5 separate regions of the Homo sapiens genome follow, and all the other regions are linked to region 3. The links are contacts of gene promoters, found by promoter capture Hi-C in blood cells and fetal thymus (Javierre and others, 2016). All regions are on one chromosome and are shown on one strand. The core of a region is centred on a gene start or on the middle of the fragment in contact, and the rest is flanking DNA. Distances in the headings are between cores, read along the strand shown.

The links. Contacts are between HindIII fragments. The CHiCAGO score rates a contact against its expected background, and 5 or more counts as called.
Region 1: the fragment with the promoter of ATOX1-AS1 here is called in contact with the fragment with the promoter of FAM114A2 in region 3 in 1 of 17 cell types (M0 macrophages); the score reaches 5.0 in M0 macrophages.
Region 2: a fragment that was not itself captured here is called in contact with the fragment with the promoter of FAM114A2 in region 3 in 1 of 17 cell types (M2 macrophages); the score reaches 6.3 in M2 macrophages.
Region 4: a contact is called between a fragment that was not itself captured here and the fragment with the promoter of FAM114A2 in region 3, in 1 of 17 cell types (M2 macrophages). The highest score is 6.2, in M2 macrophages.
Region 5: the fragment with the promoter of CCDC69 here is called in contact with the fragment with the promoter of FAM114A2 in region 3 in 1 of 17 cell types (erythroblasts); the score reaches 5.0 in erythroblasts.

Annotation. Positions count from the first base shown.
Region 1 is chr5:151,750,768-151,755,358 of GRCh38, forward strand. ATOX1-AS1 (ATOX1 antisense RNA 1) reads left to right here and starts at 2,313. Exons shown (of 4, transcript XR_007059008.1): 1 at 2,313-2,542; 2 at 2,906-3,355. ATOX1 (antioxidant 1 copper chaperone) reads right to left here. Exons shown (of 4, transcript NM_004045.4): 2 at 937-1,012. The HindIII fragment of the contact is 3,507 bases long and covers 942-4,448 here.
Region 2 is chr5:151,821,263-151,825,715 of GRCh38, forward strand. GLRA1 (glycine receptor alpha 1) reads right to left here. Exons shown (of 9, transcript NM_000171.4): 9 at 1,251-1,701. The coding sequence ends at 1,411. Among named protein-coding and RNA genes, the nearest start is that of G3BP1, 52 kb to the left of the region's middle. RefSeq lists an enhancer at 1-40 and a silencer at 1-40. The HindIII fragment of the contact is 3,763 bases long and covers 881-4,453 here.
Region 3 is chr5:154,036,830-154,041,287 of GRCh38, forward strand. It overlaps FAM114A2 (family with sequence similarity 114 member A2), which reads right to left and starts at 2,081. Exons shown (of 14, transcript NM_018691.4): 1 at 2,028-2,081. MFAP3 (microfibril associated protein 3) reads left to right here and starts at 2,138. Exons shown (of 3, transcript NM_005927.5): 1 at 2,138-2,182. The HindIII fragment of the contact is 2,878 bases long and covers 261-3,138 here.
Region 4 is chr5:151,800,625-151,805,581 of GRCh38, forward strand. It overlaps G3BP1 (G3BP stress granule assembly factor 1), which reads left to right. Exons shown (of 12, transcript NM_005754.3): 11 at 136-245; 12 at 3,261-4,957. The coding sequence ends at 3,467. Among named protein-coding and RNA genes, the nearest start is that of G3BP1, 31 kb to the left of the region's middle. The HindIII fragment of the contact is 1,052 bases long and covers 801-1,852 here.
Region 5 is chr5:151,221,778-151,226,549 of GRCh38, forward strand. CCDC69 (coiled-coil domain containing 69) reads right to left here and starts at 2,315. Exons shown (of 9, transcript NM_015621.3): 1 at 2,146-2,315. The coding sequence starts at 2,193. LOC105378230 (a long non-coding RNA gene) reads left to right here. Exons shown (of 4, transcript NR_160730.1): 4 at 1,699-2,573. RefSeq lists enhancers at 98-317, 1,738-1,847, 1,868-2,067 and silencers at 2,188-2,267, 3,751-4,045. The HindIII fragment of the contact is 18,522 bases long and covers 1-4,772 here.

The DNA.
Region 1 (4,591 bases), core at 1,063-3,562, 2.3 Mb before region 3:
CCCTAAATTAGCTGTGAGTACAGGCATGTAACACCATGCCTGGCTAATTTTTTTGGTATTTTTTGTAGAGATGGCATTTTACCATGTTGCCCAGGCTGGTCTCGGGAACTCCTGAGCTCAGGCAATCTGCCCGCCTCAGCCTTCCGAAATGCTGGGATCACAGGTGTGAGCCACCGTGCCCAGCCCCATTTAAAAAACCTTAATAGAGGCTGCGTAGGGTGGCTCGCGCCTGTAATCCCAGCACTTTGGGAGGCCGAGGCGGGCAGATCACCTGAGGTCAGGGGTTCGAGACCAGCCTGACCAACATGGAGAAACCCCGTCTGTACTGAAAATACAAAATGAGCCAGGCGTGGTGGTGCATGCCTGTAATCCCAGCTACTTGGAAGGCTGAGGCAAGAGAATTGCTTGAACCTGGGAGGCGGAGGTTGCAACAAGCCGAGATTGCACCATTGCACTCCAGGCTGAGCAAGAAGAGCGAAACTCTGTCTCAAAAAAAAAAAAAAAAAAAAAAATTCAATAGAAAATGACACTCAGATGTGTCATGCAGTACACACTGGAGATGACCAACATATGAACTAGTACTGCCATGGCTCCAGAGCTACTCCTGGCAGTACTAGTTAATTTGGCTAAATCCCAGCTCTGCCATTTACTGACCATGTGATCCCAGATAAGTTATTTAATGTTTCTGAACTTCAGCTGTCTCCTGTTTAACATGGAGCTAGTAAAAAAAAAACTATCTGAAATGGCCGTGGTGAGGATTAAATGATGTGATTCACATAAGCCACTAAGAAAATAACAAGAGTAGTTGGCACGTGCTAAGTACTCAATATATTTTAGTTTTACTGTTATGATCAGCTTAACCCTAAGTCTCTCCTGCAACATCTGCATGCATCTGAACATGGCATAAGTGCACCCAACTCAGGGCCACTCACTCACCTCCAAGCTTATTGAGGACCCGAGAGACAGCTTCAGCACAGCCTCCACAGGTCATGTCCACAGAGAACTCGTGCTTCTGAAACAAACACAGGGGGACCATGACCCGAGCCCTGTAGAGTGACCCCCACACAGTGCCAGCAGACAGGCCCACTCAGGGTCAAGACAGAAGACAGAGAGACTGGGCAGGACCTGGTTGGCATCAGACTCATCAGAAGCCTGTTTCTGAGCCCGTCTCTTCAACTATAGAGTAGCTAAGAGTTTCTACCTCACAAGTTGTATTCAATGGAATCATCCCTATAAATCCTTTAGCAGTGTCTGGCACATAGTAAATAGAATCACCTGGAGATCTAGTTTAAAATGCTTTTTCCCAGTCCTACCTTCAAAACACTGATTCTTGAGCTATGAGCTTTGTCTCAGGGCCACCAGTAACTCTGACAGGGATGGGCCCCCATACTCTGAGCAATGCTGATCTGGTGGGCCCACTTATGAACCACAAAATTATTTTCTGCACTAGAGTCACCTACAGCTTGCAAAAACTACAGGTTCTGGTCAGCAGGTCTGGGCTGGGGAATCTGTTATGTCTACTCATTACCCCAGGTGATTCTGCTTTCATCCAAGGGCCGCATTCTCAGAGGCAGCATCTGGGTCCAGGGAAAGAAAGGATTGCCTGGGTTCCCCAGTGGGTTGGAGGCCAGGCAGGAAGGGATCCCCGGCTCCTAGTCTTCATGTAAGCTCTACATTCTACAGTCTCTAGGATATCTAACAGATCAAGGGTCTGAAGGTAAGCTCCCAGAAGACAGAGGTTTTGTTCAGTTCACTACTGGATTCCTAATACTTGGAACAGTGCCTGGACAGAGTAGGTGCTTAAAACTTATTTTTGAGTCAATGGATAATTGACATGGCTGGTTTGAACTTCTGGATCTTTTGCTTTGCTTTCACACAAGGATTACTTATACCAATACTTTATTTTAAAATCTCTGGAAATGAGACCATCTGAAATCAGATAAATATGGCTTCAGATACCAGCTCTGGCACTACTAGTTGCATGATCATCAATATGTTACTTCTCTGTGCCTTAGTTTCCACATCTGAAAATTGAGGGTAAGAGTCCCTCTCTAGATTTGTGAATGGGATGAACACAGGATTTTAAGTACGGTTAGCCAGCATCCAAGATGGCCTCAATGATCTCTGCCTCTGGTATTTATGCCCTTGAGTAATCCCATTCCACATGTCTCGGGTTGGTCTGTGTGTCTTATAGAATATGGCTTGAAGTGAGGTTATGTGGCTTCTGAAGCTATCACAATGTCATAAAGGACACTGTGACTTCTGTCTTGCTCCATTTCTGGGGTCACTTGCACTAGAGGAAGTCAGCTACTAAATTACAAAGAAATTCCAGCAACCACAAGGAGAGGTCCACAAAGTGAGAGATTGAACCCTCGAGCTAACAAGCATGTGAGTGAGACATGTTGGAAGTGGATTCTCCAGCTCCAGTCAAGCCTTCAGATGAATGCAGCTCCAGCCAACATCTCACTGCAGCTTTATGAGAGCCTCTGAGCTGGAGCCACTAGGCCAAGCTGTTCCCAAATTCCTGACTCTCAGAAACTGTGTGAGTTACTATAAATATATTTGTTGTTTTATACTACAAAGTTTTGGGATAATTACTAAGGAGCAATAGATAACTAACACATTAAGGAAATTAGAGCCTAGTACTAGGTTCCGTTGGGTAAAAGGTTAGCTATTGGATTATTAATTTCTTCCATTTGTCTCTCCTGTTTCCCTTCAAAAATCAATGGCTACATTTTTCATGGAGCACTTCAAAATATTTGAAGTCTATTACCTCAGTTGGAATCCTGGGTGTAGTGATATATCTTGCTAGAAAACCACAGGCAAAATCTCTGCTCCAGAAGGGCTCCAGTTCCCTAATCTATACCAAAAGGGTATTAGCTAACTCAATTTTTTTCAACTTTAGTGTGCATAGGAAGAATCTGGGGACCTTGTGGAAAGTGCAGCTCCCAGACACCTGCCTCAACTGACTCTGTGGATGTGGAGCGGGCCCTGCCACTCCCCATTTTTAACCTACTGGGGAGAGAACGGGAGGCAAAACTACAAACCTGAAAATAAAGTGGCTAAGTGGCTTCTCAAACTCTTTCCAAGTCTCTAAACACCGCTGAGTCTGGATTGTCACTGTGCTCTACAGAGGAAACGAAGACCAAGAATTAAGCAGCTCGATTTTCCAGTGCAGACTGTTTGACCTTTGTGACTAGTAAACCACTCCTTTTATTAAGGCCAAATCTGCAAAATCTGTCTTAAAGAAAATGGTCAGTCTTTCCTTTCTTCTAAACATCTCTGATTTTTTCATCTTGTTTCCTGACTATTCACAGACAGCAACAATAACAGATTCTGGAAAGAAGGATTTGTAGTAAGTATTACAAAATCTTGTCTTTAAAATGTGGTCCTCAGCCCAACAATATGAGCATCACCTGAGAGCCTGTCAGAAATGCAGAATCTCAGGTCCCTTCCCAGAAGTCCGGAATCAGAATCCTCATTTTAACAAGACACCCAAGTCATTCCTCCCCACATTACAGTCTGAGATGATGCTCTCCTCTATTAAAAAGTTTTTTTAGGCTGGGCAATGTGGCTCATGCCTATAATCTCAACACTTTGGGAGGCTGAGGCAGGTAGATCACCTGAGGTCACAAGTTTGAGACCAGTCTGGCCAACATGGCAAAACCTGTTTCTCTACTAAAAATAGAAAAAAAATTAGCCAGGCATGGTGGCAGGTGCCTGTAATCCCAGCTACTTAGGAGGCTGAGGCAGGAAAATCACTTAAACCCAGGAGTTTGAGACTAGCCTGGGCAATACAGTGAGATCATGGCTCCATTTAATTTAAAAGAAAAAAATTGTTTTGGAAAAAAAAATGATGATGCTCTGGAACATGGATTGGCACACTACAAACTACCTGTTTTACAAAGAGTTTTGTTAAAACATAGCCCAAATCGGGCCAGGTGTGGTGGCTCATGCCTGTAATCCCAGCATTTTTGGGAGGCTGAGGCGGGAGGATCACGAGGTCAAGAGATCGAGACCATTCTGGCCAACATGGTGAAACCCCATCTCTACTAAAAATACAAAAATTAGCTGGTAGTGGTGGCATGCGCCTGTAGTCCCAGCTACTCAAGAGGCTGAGGCAGGAGAATCGCTTGACCCAGGAGGCGGAGGTTGCAGTGAGCCAAGACCATGCCATTGCACTCCAGCCTGGCAAGAGAGCGAGACACCGTCCAAAAAAAAAAAAAAAAAAAAAGAAACACAAAAACAAAAAACTACAGCCAAACTCATTTGTTTACTTTTGCACTAGAATGGCAGAGTTGAGTAGTTGTACCAGAGACCCTATGGTTTGTGAAGACTAAAATGTTTACTATCGGTGCCGTGTAAAAAAAAAAGTTTGCTGAGTCTTGCTCTAGGATAACCAGCAGAAAATCAATTCATCTATGGTTTGTACTTATATACTGAGCCAAAGCTTTGAAGGGTTTGCAAGATCAACATAAGAGCTAAATCTACTGATTGTCTATTACATGTCAAATTATCTTTGTACAGTATCTAAGTTAGTCCTCACTGAGCCTGGAAAGAGAGCTATTTATCTTATTTCACTCAGGAGGAA
Region 2 (4,453 bases), core at 1,512-4,011, 2.2 Mb before region 3:
ACCCCACCCCCAAACTAAATTCGTCTGCTGGTCCTTCTTTTTTTCTGGAGTGCCCTACCTGTCCCAGGACAATTCTGGCACTTCAGAATTAAAAGGAAAGAGAAATACTTGTCTAACTTTCCTAAATGTTAAAGCACCTAAAAGGAAAAAAAACAGACTTACAAAAATATAACGGGGTCAGCCCCCCAAACTTTGCACATTATGATATATGATATGTCAAAATATAACAAACATTTTCTAAACATTACCACATTACCATCTCTCTCCACCCATTTATACCTAATCGGCAGTAGACTCAACACTGCCCTTTCACCTCTTAAAACTTTACTCTGTAGAACCACTAGATAATAAATATATTTCACACCACTGACCCCACCTTCCCAAACATGCACTCAGTTGCAGTTCCAAAGAGACTCTCCAAAAAAATAGTCATTTGAAAAAAGTACCTGTTTACACTCAGTCTATCTGCATATTATCTTTCAAGATTATTACTTTTTTTAACCATAAAAAAGATTGCATATTGGCAATATAATGAGAAAACCACATTGGCCATTTCTGGGTGCTGGTGAAGGGTGAGTGGGGCGTTGTTGAAGCACAGAAGCAAGAGGGCTCAGAGAGGGGCAATTGTGGTCCTCAGCCTTGAGATGTGAGGGTTGAGCTGGGGTTACCTACATTCTCAATCCTTGGCCTCTGAAATGTCCGTCTCTTTAGTCACTCCCTTCTCGTCTCTCTACCTGTCCCCATTTCCACTACCCATTCCCATACCACACAGCCCTCTTGAAGCAGAGGCAAAATGGCTTTTTGGCATGTGTCCGCCTGGGTCAGTTTGAAGACAGGTATGGCGTTTGGAGGGGTATGATATGGGACATACACCAGAGCAAGCTTATTTGTGACTGTTTCCACTCTGGGAAAAATTGTCCGTTACTTCCGTGACTTTAAAAATTTAAGCAGTTACTAGGCTGATAGGTTAAGAAACAAATCTTTTGTTTTTGGGGTTTTGCATTAATATTAAGCATGAATATATATCATATATTACATTACTTTCTTTCTGCTCTGGGGCAGACTGCGCTCTCCTTCCAAACAGGAAAACTGCACAGCCCATGGACAGATTTTTGAAAGCTATTATTTCCCCAATCCCCCACCCCCTGCCCTTACCCCCTCCTTTCCTCCCAGCCCTCAGTTGCTGTATTAGAAAAGTCCCTCCTGACCCCCCGCCCACAGCCCATCTGAGGTTAAATAGTGCCACATTGTAAAATTCATGCATCACTGCATTTTGCTATTGCACATATTGCAGAGAGAGTTGTGTAAGTGTGCCCCCTCCCTCCGTTCCCCTTCTCTTCCTTAGTCTCTCAGATTCCTGTGCTATTCCCACGTTCCCCTCTCCCAGCCTCCCCCAACCTTTCAGACCCTTCACTGGTTGTGGACGTCCTCTCTACGGACAATCTTGTAGATGATCCAGTAGAACATGTTGAAAATGAGGAAGGCCATGGGGAAGCCAATGCGGGATATTTTGTCGATCTTCTTGGCCCTCTGGATGAAGAGTTTTCGCATCTCCTCTGGGGACTTAGATGGTGCAGGAGGGGGGTTGGTGGTGTTACTGTTGTTGGCGCCCTTGACTGAGATGCCATCCTTGGCCTGTAGACAGGCTGGGCCCATCCCATAGGCAGAGAAGTTAAAGCGGCCTTCTCCAGCTTCATCCTCCTGGAATAGATTCAACATGGGGCTCTACTTAAAATAAGACAGGGGCTAGGCACCCTCCCTGCAAGGCACTCCCTTGGGGGCCAGGCCATGCCTATCTGGTTCTCCCTGCTTTCCAGACTGCATCACTCTAGGTTTCTGGAGGCTTTTTGGCTGGCTGGGGAGTTCTGCCTTATAGAGGGGCGCCACTTGCCTGCTGAAACAGATGCAAAACAGGGGATAGGAATGTGGTTTAGAGTCTGGAGACCTGTGTTCAAGTCCCAGCTCTATCAATTGCTGGTTGTATGACCATAGGCAAGTAATTTCCTTCTGTGAGTCTCGGGGATTTTTATTTCATTTTTTCTTCTACCTGGGGGATAAGATTCTCCCCACTACTCCACAAGTTTCTTTTGACCATCAGAGGTTATAATTGAGAACATATTCAAGGTTGTACTGGGTTTTAGTTAGAAATTCAGAGGACAATTTGGACAGATCCCCTGCTTTGCCTCTGTTGCTTCCTTGCCCTCTTCCCCATCCCATTCCCCAGTTAATAACTCCCAGGAGTGGGTGGTAAGGGGGATGGCTATGGGCCAGGATGGAGCAGGAGCTCTGGGCCTCACTTCCGTTCTACAAGCCAGGGAAGCCACAGCTTCTTCCTGCCTCTACGTTCCCACATCCCTGGCAGTTGTAACTTCAGACAGACCTCTGGATTTTTACTAAGTTTTCATTCAAGACCCTTCATCATTTGGCTCCAACTTACCTTTCCAGGCTTTCCTTCTCCCCCACCAGATACTTTGCAGCCCTCCAGGTTTGTACATTTTCTCTTGTGCCTTCTCACGTCCCTTCCTTATGCTCACTACCAAAATGCCTGCTGCCCTGATCCTTCTAGTTCATCTCTTTCCCAGGTCATGGTGGTCTTGCCCTGGTCTGAATCATGGAGGCACTATTGTCTGCTCTCCTCATGTCCAGCTTTGTTATCGTTGCATGTGAGCTCTGAGGAGGAATTGAGAGTCTAATGTTTTGGTCTCAGCTGTTGATTCAATGTTGGCATTGGGAAGTTTTATCAGCTCACATTGCCCAACTAGATAATGCTTTCAGGAAAAGAACACCGTCTTCTGCTTGTTCCTGTGCAGGACCGGGCCAACAGAGAAAAACTCAGTATAGGATTCACTGGTGCCTCTCCATCTCTCCTGTAGGGTAGGCCACCTTCTGATTTGTTTGTTTTGTTTTATCTTGTTTGTAGAGATGGGGGTCTCGCTATGTTGCCCAGTCTGGTCTTGAACTCCTGGCCTCGAGATCCTCCTGCCTCGGCTTCACAAAGTTCTGGGATTACAGGTGTGAGCCACTGTGTCCAGCCCACCATTGCAACAGCCTCCAATCTGCCCCCACCACCCAACCCATCTGAGTCGTTATAACACAGATCTTGGTCATCTTTTGCTTAGAACCTTTTAATAGGCTGCCACTGACTTCAGGTTAATTAAAATCCTGAACATGATAAACAAGGCCTTAGAACCTGGACCCTGCCTGCTTTTGCAGTCTCATCTTGTGCCATTTCTATCTGGTGTTCTATGCTTTAGTCACTGAAATATTTCCTTATATTTGAAAATGTCATGGTTCTTTTCTTGAACTCTGGGCCTTTGTGCAAGTTGTTCTCCCTGCCTAGAACACACTCTGAACCCCATCTCTTGTCTCCAACTCCTCTTTCACCTAATTCTTCCTTAGAAGCCTTCTCTGAGCTCCCAAGTATAGGCTAGCCGCTCCTGCTGTGTGCTCCATAAGCTCTCTGTATATATCTCCGTCTTTTTTTAAAGCTCTTATCACATTGTATGGTAATTTCTTGATTAGCGTCTGTCTCTTACTAGATTATAAGCTCCGTGCAAAGTCTGTCATGTTCACTGCACTCTCAACACTGAACATATGAACATAGTCCCTGGTTCATAAGCTCAAAACTTGGTATATGTTTGTTGAACAAATGTTTACTTGTATATCTTCACCAGCTTTAGTGTCCTTTTTTGTTGTTGTTGTTTGTTTAAATGGAGTTGTATTTTTAGCACCAGAAGGGTTTGAGACATATGGTAAATGCTGAAGAAATCCTTGGAAAATGAATGAATCTTGTCCAACATCTTCATTGCAAAAGTGAGGAGGAAGAGGATGTGCCACCTACAGTGCCTGGCAAACAGGTGCTCAGTAAGTACTTGTCTATGAATAGGGCAACAGTAGAAGATTCAATGCCAGGGCCAAGGAGAGGAGTTGGGGAGAGCCAGCCAAATTGCTGGACCTAGTACTTAGAAGGGGGTCTAAGTCTGACTCTATTGCATTTCAATGAAAATCTCCCCTTGCTGGAGCTGGGGTGTTGTTCTATTTTTATTTTTATTTTTTATTTTAAACTGGGACCTAGTTACGTAGGGGGAAGCACCAAATTAACTTTTTATGCTGCTTTGGGTGAATTATTCTTTGCCTTTCTCATCTGTTAAACATGGGAGTAGGAGGAGTAGAGGTTTGGATTGAAGGCCCCATCTAGCTAGAGGATTATCAATTTCATATTGTGTCTGGGAGAAAAATTCCCTAGGAATGACTGGTAAAAGGCTTGCTATTCTTATTGGAACCAGCAGGTGGCAGGAAATGCATGCCCAACTGCATCTGGAGCTGCTTAGAGCTGGAGCAGGGGAAATCTGGTAGTGTACTCTGGAGCTCAGGGAAGTTGCTAGTAGTATGCCTGCTGAGTCTGGTGCTCACAGATATGGTTTCCTGATAATTTGCCTAAGGAGGCTGGCCA
Region 3 (4,458 bases), core at 831-3,330:
ATGCCAACATTTAAAAATCAGACTTCATATAAAAATATAGGCTTCCAACTTCTAACTTGTAAAATTAAAAGATCTAGCAACACCGGGCCCACATTCAACTCTGTAATAACTAGCTTGTGCTAAATAGCCGCTGGGCCCTTTTAGCTAGGGCAGTTGCTCTCCAGCTCCCTACAATCCCCCACGCAAATCCACTTCACTCAAATTATGCTACCTGATTAACCTCTGTAGGCATCTGAGTTGGCAACACCTGCCTTAAAAGAAGCTTATGATTTTGACAGATGATGATGCCAATGACAGGATTCAAGGATATGGAAATAACATGAGGGTACAGCCAAAGGCCTGAGGTCTGACAGTATGGAACATGGACAGTTACAGTAGGGAGTAGTTACCATGGCAGAGAGAAGAACAATGGGAAGGCATGAAGCTAGAAAGGTAGATTAAGACAACACTATGGAGTTCAGAATATATGGGCATATAATATAAACACATTACACATTTCCAAAACACATAGAGAAAAAATCCAGATACAACTACTCACTGACATACAAACCAACTTAGAAGTAGCCATTCATTCACTCGCAAACATTTTTTGAGTACCTACTACGTACCAAGTAGTACCACAGTACCTGTGGAGATAGAGAACTAATGTAAGCCATTCACTCCAAGGGCCTATCTAATAGGAAAGACGAGACAGTTTTTGCACAAAGTTCAATTAATGTTTTGTGTATATGAATAAATGTTTCCTATCTTTTCCTTATGCTCTCTCCAGGTTGCAACGCATCATTATCATCATCATAAATATATACAGTATACTATATGTAGAATATATAATATACATATTACATAAATTCATATAATTCCATGAAAGACTGGAAGGACATACTCCAAAATATATTTTTAAAGACAGGGTCTCGCTATGTTGGCCAGGTTGGTCTTGAACCCTAGGCCTGGCCTCAAGCAATCTTCCCCTGCCTCAGCCTCCCAAAGTGCTAAAATTACAGGCGTGAGCCACCATGCCCTGCCAAAACAGTCCCTTTACTAAAATATTAAACACTGGTTATCTCTATTCTTTCATTTGTGCCAGATATTTGAGCTAAGCCAGAAGAGAATTTTTTATGGTGATGGTTGTTTATATTATCATTACTATCGTTATTAGAATGACTGTACCATCTCTTTCCTCAACTCATTCATAATCTAGGAGAAAGGTTAAAAAAAAAAAAGGAATAAACACCAAGTACGTGGAACTGCACTATTTAGTGTTTTTGTAAGTCTTCCAGGCATTGTGTAGTAAGCGTGTAGAAATAATTGTAGTTTCTCCTCCAGTTATTTTCTCAGTTGGAGGAGAAAGATTCCAATAACTGTAAATAAATACGGCTGAGCCATATTTTTAAGAAATAAAAACGCATACGCTTACACACACACATATATATTACGTATATATACACTCCACCCGCCCCATTTACCAAAATGAAGAGCAGTACAGCTTAGTAGCTAAGAGCACGGGCTCTGGAGTTTACTTTCTTCCTGTCCTGCAGCGATTGTGGGGAAGTCAGGTCACCTGTCTGCCTCTCCGTTTCCTCATCTGTCAAATGGAGTTCTGGGTCCCTATAAAGATTCAGTGACGCGATATGTGAGGGGCTTGGAACAGTGACCGGCACGTAACCGCCCACAGGTTAACAGCTGCTATCACTTGGTGGGGTGATGGTTTGTATCCTATCGTTATTAATACGGCTGTCTCTAGATGAGCAAACATGCGCTCTCACTTCTTCCCACATTCAAGAATGGGGTCCCAAACGAGAGATTCGACGTAAACGTCCGCTCCCAACTAAGTTCTCAGGCGCTGACAACGACAAGAATTCCTCACACAAACGTAGCGCTTCAATCACTAAACCGCTTTCACAGCCCTCGACCCTGCCGCGAGATGTCCGCCGCCCACCGTCAGGTCACCGCCTCCCTAACGACTTCGGCTGCCCGGGCCCTGCCCCTGAACCTCGCACCCCTCCTGCCTCGTTCAGGAAGCTCCGCACCTATCCGGCCGCCACCCTCAGCACAGCCACGGCAGCCGACTCGGCGTTCCTACTGCCCCGGAAGTGCTCCTTCAGCGCAGAGGCGTGCCGGTGTGTCCGAGAAAACTTCCGAGTTAAGCCGCCGCTGAGGCCGGAAGGAGCTAGACGGCGGTCGGGTAGGTGACGGCTTGGTTGGGGTCGCTGCGAGGGGACTACTAGGAGCGCCGAGGCGTGAGTCGTAGCCTGTGGCTTGGGGTCGGGAGTGCAGGAGGCGAAAATGTTTGCCATTCTTTTGAAAGTCTGGCCTGGGTGTGGGAGTTCGGTCATCGAACACTTACTGAGAGCCAGATACCTGCCAGGCACTGCCCTGGGCTCCAGGGACACATCAGTCAACGAACGGAAGGGCCCTGCTCTCAAGCAGTGCGAAAAGCAGATTATAAACAAGTCAACAAACGGGATTATCTAAGGTGGTAGTAAGTGCTGTAAAGAAATTTAGACTGGATAATGTGATGGAACGAAGTGGGAGAGTAATAAGCCGTATGAAAATCTGGAATAGAGCATTCCAGGCAGAGAGAATAGCGCGTGCAAAGGCCATATAGTGGGAACAAACTTAGCAAAGTCAAGGAAAAGACAAAGGCCACTGGCTAGAGCAAAAGGAGCAAGGTGAGAATGGAGAGAGATGAGGCCAGGGACTTGAGCCCAAATCTTGTAAGGCTTATGAGCAAGGATAAAGAGTTTGATTTTTGTTTGGAATCCAGTGGAAAACCATTGAAGGTTTCTAAGCAGATGAATGACATGATCTGATTTATGACTCTAAGATTACTCCTGGGACCTCATCAGAAAGATGCAACTCTTCTGTTGCCCTCGAGCAGTGAAAATGCATGAAATCCAGACTGACAGAGCTAGTAAAATATTAAAATCAATCTTATTGTACAGATAAGAAAAACTGAATCCCAGAGAGGTGAAGGGACTTAGCCTTTAAGAACTCATGTTTTCCAACTCCATTTAATGCCCTCGGAATTATCATCTTAATTCCCAGATAAGAGTAATTGTCACTTCTAAAACTCTTCAGATATTTTCCTTTGCTTTTGACAGTGGTTCTCTAAATTTAGGTTCATCAATATCACCTGGAAGCTTGTTAAAATTCCAAAAAACAACAACAAAAAAACCCCTGCTTAAATATAAAATGGATCATTTCCTCTGATTTTCTGTTGTAATGGAAAATGCATAGAATTTGGGGCTAAAGTATGGAATCTTGGGAAGCCACTTATTTTTTAAATGCTGCTGATAATTATAGCAGCAGTTCTCAAACTTTTTGATCTTAGAATTTCTTTATACTTTTAAAATGTATTGAGAACTTCAAAGGGTTTTTGTTTATAATAGCTATCAATATTTACTATTTTAGAAAACAACTTTCAACAAAGGTTATTCATTTTAAAATAAACTCATTATATGTTAACATAGATAGCATTTCTGTAAAGGATATTTTCCAAAATGAAAAATTATTGAGAATGGCATTGTTTTACATTGTTACAAATCTCTTTAATGTCTGGCTGAATAAAAGACAGCTAGATTTTCGTAACTTCTACCTTCATTCTCTTACAATATCAATCATCATGTAACTTTTAGAAAATTGTGCCATATTGTGTGAGAATGTGAGTGAAAAAGGGATATGTCCTAATATTATGTAAATTGTTTTGAAACAGTGTCAGGGACACCCAGGAGTTCCTGCACCACACTTTTGAGAATTACACTGAATTACGGTGATTGTCATGCCAGTAAAAGAAATATGAGTTTGATTTGTAAATCAATAAACCTATATGCACATTAAAAATGCAGATGCCCAGGCATCCCCTAGAGATCCCAATTCAATAAGTCTGTGGGGTCAAGAAATCTGCATCTTTAACAAGCACCACAAATTAATTTGATATAAATGGTCTGAAAATTACAGAGTGAGAAAACCAGTCAAATGATTCTCTAGAGTGTTCTGCCTACTAAAACTCAAGATAGGTGTCTTTCTTATCTTCACCTCTCTCCATCAATAGTTTCCAGAGCCTGAAGCTCTGGAAAGTTAATAAGTTTGTAGCAGACACCTTTCACACTACCAAGTCGATGAGTGTCTGAACTCAAAATTTTGAGCACTTGCCACAGGCAGTGGCCCTGTGCTAAGGACAGAAGGTTTTTAGACTCTATCATTCATAAGCTTACAGTCTTTTGAACGGATAACTAACTGCTAAGAGGAAAACTGATAAGTCTTATAATGGCGTACTCTTAATGTGCTAGGGGACTGACAGAGCAAAAAAAAAAAAAACTCATCTGACAAGAGGGTGGGCATGAGAGGGTTTCCTGAATAAGATGAAATTAGAGTTGAATATTATAGAGAGGGTACAGTTTCCCCCAGAAAGATATTGACGGGAAGGGGCAGAAAGATTTTTAAGCAAAAGGAACAACT
Region 4 (4,957 bases), core at 77-2,576, 2.2 Mb before region 3:
ATTCAGACTAGCTATATTTATAATTCAAGTGCTCAGTAGTCACATGCATCTAGTGGCTACTGTATTGGACTGTGTACATGTAATGTTTAAAGATAATGGTCTAAGTAGTTATCTGAGAATGTGTTTCACTTGCAGGTTATGGAAACGTGGTGGAGTTGCGCATTAACAGTGGTGGGAAATTACCCAATTTTGGTTTTGTTGTGTTTGATGATTCTGAGCCTGTTCAGAAAGTCCTTAGCAACAGGGTAAGCAGCTTTTTGTCTTGATTTTTTTTTTTTTTTTTTAAAAAGGGTTTTGGTTCTTTAGAATATATCTTTACAGCTGGGTCTTTATGTAAAGTGCAGTTTATTCCAACATGTTCAGGTAATTTATTCATTATTTTCAACCATTATTAAAAGACTTGCCTGGGGGTTTAGGAAAACAAACCTTATGTTTAAGTAACTTAGTTTTTGAAAACATGAATTATGAGAATGAGAAAATGAATAGTTATCAGTGCACTGAGATTTACGTAACTACCTTTCCTTGGTGGTGGCTTTTGGTATACAGGAGATGAAATACAAACCTACTTCTAACTATTAACTAAGATAAGAGCCAGTTTGCCCAGGACAGTTTTGGTATACTGCTGTTTTTAGAGAATAACTATTAAGAGCTTCTTCTTTAAGTTAATAAATTGGATTTGGAAGATAAATTATATAGTCAACCTACTTGGAACCATCCTTACTAACAGTACTCTTACTCTGTACGTTCTAATAATAGAAGAATTTGTAGAATGGAAATCTTACTGTGGGATCCCCAAAGAAAGCTTCCCTTCCTCTAGCAAAAAACTACTTTTTGTAGTAGTAGAGAAGAACAAGTGTATAAATAATATTAATTTACTAAGCTATACTTTTTTATTGAGGTGAAATTTACATAACAAAATTAACCATTTAAAAATGTACAACTTAATTGCATTTAGAACACATTATTGTGCAACCATTACCTTTAATTCCAAAAGTTTTTTACTAAAAGCCATAAGCTCTTTACTCACTAAGCAGTCATTCCTTGTACCTGTCTCCCAACCCCTGGCAGCCACTAATCTGCTTTCTGTCCCTATGAATTAAAATTGTGTACTTTAAACCATATAATAAAAATACTGCAGATCAGTGATATTCTCCAGAATGTTAATGGGCATACTGCAAAGTTTTTTATTTTTTTATTTTTTTTTTTTTGAGACAGTGTCTCTCTCTGCCACCCAGGCTGGAGTGCAATGGTGTGATCTTGGCTCACTGCAACCTCCACATCCTGGGTTCAAGCAGTTCTCCTGCCTCAACTTCCTGAGTAGCTGGGATTACAGGCACCCGCCACCATGCCCAGCTGATTTTTTTGTATTTTTAGTAGACATGGGGCTTCCCCATGTTAACCAGGCTGATCTCGAACTCCTGACCTCAGGTGATCCGCTGACCTTGGCCTCCCAAAGTGCTGGGATTATAGGTGCGAGCCAATGCACCTGGCCTTACTGCATAGTTTAATGTTGTGGTTATAACATGTCAACCTGAGTATGCAAATATACATTATCTTTCAAATTATTTGACCATTTATTTTTGTGAAGCATCTCCTGCAAAATACTGTTTGAGAAATGAGAGAACAGTGGTTTATCTCACCAAAGCCACTGAAGAACCCAGAAATGTCCAGTAGGCTTTGTAGATAAATCCATCATTCAGCATGTATTAGGCCTAGTGGCCACCCTTCATTTCATGGTATTGATAGAAGTCTACTATGCTCCCTTCACTAATTTTTTGTGTGAGCAGAAATAGCTTATGTAAGACTGATTGCCGTGGTGTATGACATACTGTAGTGTAGCTTACCGTTTCAAAGCTTATTTTTCCCTGGAGGCCTTGGTTTGTATTCTCCTTTCATCACTCATTAGTGTTGTGACCCATGGGACAAGTTACTTAACCTCCCCGGCCCTTAGTTTGCTAGTCCTTAAAGTAGGTATCTACCATCAGAGGGTTGTTGTAAAGGTTAAGTGAGCTAATAAATTTGAATAGAGCTGGGCACAGTGGCTCACGCCTGTAATCCCAGCACTTTGGGAGGCCGAGGCGGGCGGATCACGAGGTCAGGAGATTGAGACCATCCTGGCTAACACGGTGAAACCCCGTCTCTACTAAAAATACAAAAAATTAGCTGGGTGTGGTGGCGGACGCCTGTAGTCCCAGCTACTCGGGAGACTGAGGCAGGAGAATGGCGTGAATCTGGGAGGCGGAGCTTGCAGTGAGCCGAGATCGCGCCACTGCACTCCAGCCTGGGCAGCAGAGCGAGACTCCATCTCAAAAAATAAATAAATAAATAAATTTGAATAGAACACTTCCGCGACACATAGTAAGTACTCTTAGATACTCATTTTAAGAAATTAGAAAATTACATTGCTGGTGAAGAGCATAAATTGAATATATTGAAATGTTTCGTAGCCCCTTAACTACTTTGGCTCTGTTAGGAGGAAACGAAGGCCAAGACTATCCAAAATTCTCAGGAGGTGTTAAAGAGCAAATTAAAGTTTATGTCAAATTAATGAAGTTTTTATTTTAAATGTATATGTACTTTGCATAAATATGTACAGTACCATCTTTTCACACTGGTGATGATGAGGTTTTATTCTAAGCCTCCAAATCTATGGAGAAGGTGGCAATTTTTTTTATTTTTTATTTTTTATTGGGACGGAGTCTCACTCTGTCGCCCATGCTGGAGTGCAGTGGCACGACCTTGGCTCACCACAACTTCCGCCACCCGGGTTCAAGTTGCACTCCAGTCTGGGTGACGAGTGAAACTCTGTCTCATTAAAAAAACAAACAAAAAACTGAACTGTGAGAACTTAGCTGATTTATAATCTGCTGGTTCTTTTTTTTTTCTGAGTCGGAGTCTCGCTCTTTTTCCCAGACTGGAGTACAATGGCGTGATCTTGGCTCACTGCAACCTCCGCCTCCTGGGTTCAAGCAATTCTCCTGCCTCAGCCTCCTTGAATAGCTGGAACTACAGGCGTGTGTCACCATGTCTGGCTAATTTTTGTGTTTTTTTAGTAGAGACGGGGTTTCACCATGTTGGTCAGGCTGGTCTTGAACTCCTGACCTCGTAATCCACCCGTCTCGGCCTCCCAAAGTGCTGGGATTACAGGCATGAGTCACCGTGCCCAGCCTCTGCTGGTTCATTATTACAGCTTTCTTTATCTTTGATAGTGATAGCCAGCTCATCAGTACTCTTAAGTCTGGTCACCTTGATTCTTACAGCCCATCATGTTCAGAGGTGAGGTCCGTCTGAATGTCGAAGAGAAGAAGACTCGAGCTGCCAGGGAAGGCGACCGACGAGATAATCGCCTTCGGGGACCTGGAGGCCCTCGAGGTGGGCTGGGTGGTGGAATGAGAGGCCCTCCCCGTGGAGGCATGGTGCAGAAACCAGGATTTGGAGTGGGAAGGGGGCTTGCGCCACGGCAGTGAATCTTCATGGATCTTCATGCAGCCATACAAACCCTGGTTCCAACAGAATGGTGAATTTTCGACAGCCTTTGGTATCTTGGAGTATGACCCCAGTCTGTTATAAACTGCTTAAGTTTGTATAATTTTACTTTTTTTGTGTGTTAATGGTGTGTGCTCCCTCTCCCTCTCTTCCCTTTCCTGACCTTTAGTCTTTCACTTCCAATTTTGTGGAATGATATTTTAGGAATAACGGACTTTTAAAGAAGCAAAAAAAAAGACTGAATTTCCTTGCTTACTTTGCATATACAGACTGGATTTTTTTTTTTTTTTTACAGCCATTTCCCCAAAGGAATGTCTTGCATATTACTGACATTTGGTATGTTTCATTCATTGGAATATTTCTTATTTTCTACGTGTTTGAAAAGCCTGTAAGAAATACAGGATTTGATAATATTTTGAAGGCAGGAAAAACCCAAATTGTTTCTTCTTTGAGAGTCATGACTACCTTCTGGTGTGGAGAAATTGCCATTGGAAAATTTGACAATTTTGATTCTCACTGGTATGTTTAAAAACTGAATAAAAGGAATAGAATTTTTTTTTGATAAAGGATCACAAAACAATTCTAAAACCTAACTGTTTTTACCATTGAAATTTAAATTGTGATAATAGGTTTTAAATGTCTAGAATGCAACTGATAGGCTTTTCTTGAACTGTTAGTTTTTTTGAAGTAGTTTTTTCATGTTTAATTTGTATTTGTAAAAAAACAAAAAGCAAAAAAATTCCCAAAACCCAGATAACAACCAGAGCAAAACTGTTGTGCCTTCTATTTATCTTTGATTTCAGTCTTGGCAATTGTTTAAAAAAAAAATCTAGATTTGTTTTATTAGGTTCAGAGTATGTGGGGAATTATAGAATCCCTCTTTCATCACTTTGTGTATGTCTTTTGTTAACATATTTGTTATGCCTTATTCTAAAATTGAGTCTCAAACTGGAATGCCTTTGAAGACAGATGCTTCTATAGAGGTTCTTTGACCTAAATAGTTCAGCATTTGTATTTTTATTCTGGTATCTAATCAGATTCCTAATCATAGCCCGTAAGAAGGAATGTTACTTTAATATTGGACTTTGCTCATGTGCTCGTGTCCGCATTTTTTTTTTTCTTAAAATCATAGCCATATGGTAAATTTTCTATTTTGTTATGGTTCTCTTTTATTGATGGGCATGCAGTGGGTGTTACTTGGAAATGGCCAATTTTTATTAAAATATTTCTGGAAGAAAATTTAATCTGGCAATATAGACTAATACTCGTTTCACATATGTGTTATTTGTTGAGTGCTGTGTGTGAGATGGGTGAAGGTTTTGTTTACACGTGTGAAACAAACTTTTGTGTGATTGTCATTACTAATTGAAGGGCAACCAGGTTGTAAAATTCAGCGTATTTATTTTCTTAACAGTATTCATCTTTAGGACTGTCGTTTGAGGATAGCATAGGAATATTTGGTTTGCATTAC
Region 5 (4,772 bases), core at 1,065-3,564, 2.8 Mb before region 3:
CCCTCTGTAGCCTGAGCTCATTTTTGTCCATCCCATCCCTGGAGTCCCCCTCTCTCCCAGGGGGCTGGTAGCCTGTTGGGGATGAACTTGGGAGCTCATGCCTTCCAAGGGGTTGGCACCTGGGTGAGAAATTGGGCAGGAGCACAGCCTACAGGGATGAGAACTTTAAACAAAAACAGCCCATAAATCTTGCCATATAGGGGCAGGGGCCTGGCATGGCTGGGGCCAAGAAGGCATGCCAGGCTGTTCTCTGAGGCAACAGGAGTAAAAGATTTTACGCTAAAGTCATCAAGAAGCCACTGGAAGCACAGCGGGAGGAGGTGGAGACAAAGAACACGGAGCTAGGGGACTAGATACCTGGGTTCTGCTCTGTGTTGCTCTGTGACCTCAGTCATGCTCCTTCCCTTTTCTAGGCCTTAACCTCCTATCTGTATAGTGGGTGCGTCAGCCCAGGTAGTACCCAAAGGCCCTTTCCAACTCAGACAGGCTGTGCCAGCTTTACTTGCCCTTCAGAGCTTTGGCTGTGCCAGGGACAGGCAGGAACAGCTGGTAAGTCTCTCAGAAGGAGCAGGAGCCAAAGAACCTGTGCTTACTGTGACCTCCTCTTCCAGCTTGTGGAAGGGTCAGGCTCTTCCCCGTTTCCTCCACCTCTAGGTAGATGGAATTCACCCTTGGTCCACTTTGCAAGCTACAAGGTTGACACAGGTGCAGAGAACACAGACTCTCAGATGCTTAGGGATCATCCTGCTCATCACTCCCCATACAGGGAGAAACTGAGACCCAGGGAGACACAAGGGCTTGCTTGGGGTCACCCAGTATGTTTATGGCACCACCAGGACTTACACCCAGGGCTAATGTCTGCCTACCACTTGCTCAGTTACAAGTCTCAGCCAAGGCTCAGGTCTCTCCGCCTTGTCATCCCTGTCAGCCAGCCCCTTCCTTCTACTGATAGAGCCAAGCCTCAGTTTCCCTGTTGGAGTGAGTAAAGACATGAGGGTTTCTAGGTCAGGAGTTGGTGAGAATTTCAATCTGGTAATAAAGGGAGAGCAAGGAAAGCCAGGAGGTGTCAGAGAAGGGAGTAGAATCCTCCAGGCTAGGACTACTGTTAGGCAGAAAAACCTGTACTCAGGGCACAAGCAAAGCAGGAGCAGAGGGAGGACTAAAGTTCATTGCAAAACTATTAAACACTGTCACAGTTTGGGGCCTCTCAAGGTCTCAAGGGGGAATGATGATAAAGTTTAAGGGATCACCTAGTCCCACCTGGCTAGGGGGCAGGTAGTGGTAAGAAAAGGGGCCAGAATTTGAGGGTCCTTCTTCCCCTCTGCCTCACAGTGTCCCCTGAGGAGGCTATCTTTCTAGCTCCAGGCTCTGACCTTCTGGGCTCGTCAGACCCCAAGGGGCAGCTGGTCTCACTGCAAGAAACCTGAGAATTGTCCCCTGGGCCCTGACCCAGCTCCAAGGCCCCTTGGGGGAAGGACAGGAAGGGAGGAGAGGGCCACAGAACGCAGTAGATCTCCTCCCTCTTTGGCCCCTCCCAGCTACCCCAAGGGCAGCCCACACTCACCAGCTCTGGGGCCTGCAAGAGCCCTAAGACCAGCGCCTCAAACTTTAAAGCGTCATCACCTGGGCATATTGTTAAAAGGCAGCTTCTGTCTTGGCAAGACTGGGCCTGAGCCTGAGATTCTGCATTTCTGACAGGTCCCCAGGGATGCTGATACTGCGAGTCTGTGGAACACTCTTCGAGCAGCCCTGAGATTATCAGCCTTTAACCCCCGGGGGGAGGAAGCCGAAGGCCCAGAGAGGTCAAGTCACTTGTCCATGGCCACACAGCGAACAGCCCCAGACCGAAAGCAGAGGGCACCTGCCACAGACACACGACATCTCCCCACCCGAGGCAGCGGGAATCAGCTGCCTTTCCCTGGCCCGGGTGCCGTGTTTGTAAACTCGGCTGCTTGGTGCGGCTCGGGCCGGGGTAAAGGGCGCCTCCCAGCAGAGCCTCCCTCGTCTCTGAGCTGGCCTCTCCAGGTTCTCCGTCCGGTATCCCGGGCCGACCAGAGAGAGCCCGGGGCGCCGAGTCCTCTGCGGCGGAGCGATTCCGCACTCCCCTCTCCTCTGAAAGCAAACTTCTCCGCCGGCGCCCTTTACCTTTTTCGGGGGTTTGCAGCTGCTCAGCCTGCTGTGTCTGCAGCCCATCCTCCTCCGGGGGCTCCCGGACGCCGCTTCCCAACTCCGGGGCCCCCAGAGGAGCCTGCGATCCGGGCCCCGCTGCCCGCTCCGCGCCCGCCGGCTGGGGCTGCCGGCGAGACCCTGAAACTGAACCTGGAAGCGCTGTCTTGAGCCTGAGCTGGGGCGGCCGCCCGCCGTAAATACCCGAAGAGCGGGGCCTCAGTGTAGCCCGCAGGGCCAGCGGCGCCGCCACCAGAGGCAGGTGACCAGAATCCTTCTAAATAATAGGAAGCTCTGGTCAGGGCAGAAGAAAAGAAAACCTCAAGGAGCAACAGATGCTTTTCCGAACCCTCAGCTAAGAAAGGGCCGGGGGAAAAAATAATTAAAGCAATTATTTGATAAACTAACAACTATCATTCATTGAGGGCTGTTTTTGTCCCAGTTGTTTTATACATTTTATTTCTATTTCTTGCCATATCAGTGCAACAAAGGTATTACTTCCTCCATTTTACAGGTGAGGAAAATGGTGTTCAGAGATGCAACATGATTTGCCTAAGGTCACATGGCTAGTAAGTTACCACAGCCCAGATAGAATCCAGTTCCTTTTTTTTTTTTTTTTTTGCCGCTATCATAGTTCACTGCAGCCTCAAACTCCTGGGCTCAAGCGAGCCTCCCAGCTCAGCCTCCTGAGTAGCTGGGACTACAGAGGCTCACCACCATACCCAACCAAATTCTTTTCTTTTTTCCAGTCTGATTTTGAACGACCGCCCTCAAGCGATCCTCCCACCCTGGCCTCCCAAAGCGTTGGGATTACAGGCATGAGCCACTGCACAGAATACAGTTCTAACTCCAGAACCTAAACTTTGACTCAATGGCCTACAAATAAATCATAATACTAAGTTTATTGTATTTATTTATTTTTGAGACAGAGTCTCGCTCTATTGCCCAGGCTAGAGTGCAGTGGCACGATCTTGGCTCACTGCAACCTCTGCCTCCCAGGTTCAAGTGATTCTCCTGCCTCAGCCTCCCCAGTAGCTGGGATTACAGGCATGCACCACGACACCCAACTAATTTTTGTATTTTTAGTAGAGACAGAGTTTCACCATTTTGACCAGGCTGATCTCAAACTCCCAACCTCAGGTAATCCGCCCGCTTCGGCCTCCCAAAGTCCTGGGATCCCACACCTGGCCAATAATACTAAGTTTAATTTTAATGCCTCCTCACTTCTGGGCTGATAGTTTTTTCCACCTCACAAGCATCTGTAATATTTGACTCTATCCATCTTGGATAGATGTTATTCATCACAACAACCTCTTGAGGCAGGCCAGGTATGGTGACTATGGGACATAAAATGTCAGTGTCTAGGAAAAGGAGCTTTTGTTTATCTTCTCTTTGTTATTAGCTGAGGTTTCTGAAATGGCAATGCAGGAAAAAGATAACCAATTTTGAAAATCAGTGTGTATGCCTATTTGCGTGTATATTGGAATATTAAAGTCAGGCCCAAAACTCTTGGAAAGGTGTGCTGTGAAAACGGCTTAGAGTCATGAATGGGGAAAGAATATGAGACCTCAAAAAAATTGCTCCCTCCATAGGGTACAAAACCAATTGCAAAAGTGTGTAAGAAAGGAAACTAAGGAAACGTGTTATTAGGTTCTCAAAAGCAAGTATAATAGAGAATGGTGGCTCACAAAGTGTGATTCCCAAATCAGCAGTGTCAGCACTACCAGCCGCCTTTGTTGGAAATGCAAATTCTCGGGCCCCACCCCTGGCCTAAACTCTGGGGATGGGGCTTAGGAATCTATGGCTTCATAAGCACTCCACTCATGTCTGGCCTGGGCTAAAGTTTGAGAACCCCTGCCATAGGACGTGCTCCACAGGTACTGAAGAAACAGGATATACTTAAATTATACTAAAATTAACAATGTTTATTGGAACAGTGCTCATGATTAAAAACAAAGAACCCAAAACAACCTAAACAGCCAAGAAAAGAAGGTTGGTTAAATACATTATGCTATATCCATAAAAATAGAATGCCACATAACCAGCAAAAATACTGATGAAGATGAATTTTTTGTGTTACAAAACATAACAAACTCATTTTCATTAAAAAAAAAAATTGAGTGACTACCACTGTATTGGTGAGATTTTGAAATTTTAAAACAGTTTTTTTTTTTTTGAGACAGGATCTTGCAATATCACCCAGGCTGGAGGGCGGTGGAGTGATCATGGCTCACTGCAGCCTCAGTCTTCCAGGCTTAAGTGATCCTCCCACCTGAGCCTCCCGAGTAGCTGAGACCACAAGTGCCTGCCACCAAGCCTAGCTAATTTAAAAAAAAAAAATTTTGTAGGCCAGGCACAGTGGCTCATGCCTGTAATCCCAGCACCTTGGGAGGCTGAGGTGGATGGATCACCTGAGGTCAGGAGTTCGAGACCAGCCTGACCAATATGGTGAAACCCTGTCTTTACTAAAAATACAAAAATTAGCCGGATGTGGTGATGTGTGCCTGTAGTTTCAGCTACTCAGGAGGCTGAGACAGGAGAATTGCTTGAATCCGGGAGGCAGAGGTTGCAATGAGCCTAGATTGTGCCATTGAACTCCAGCCTGG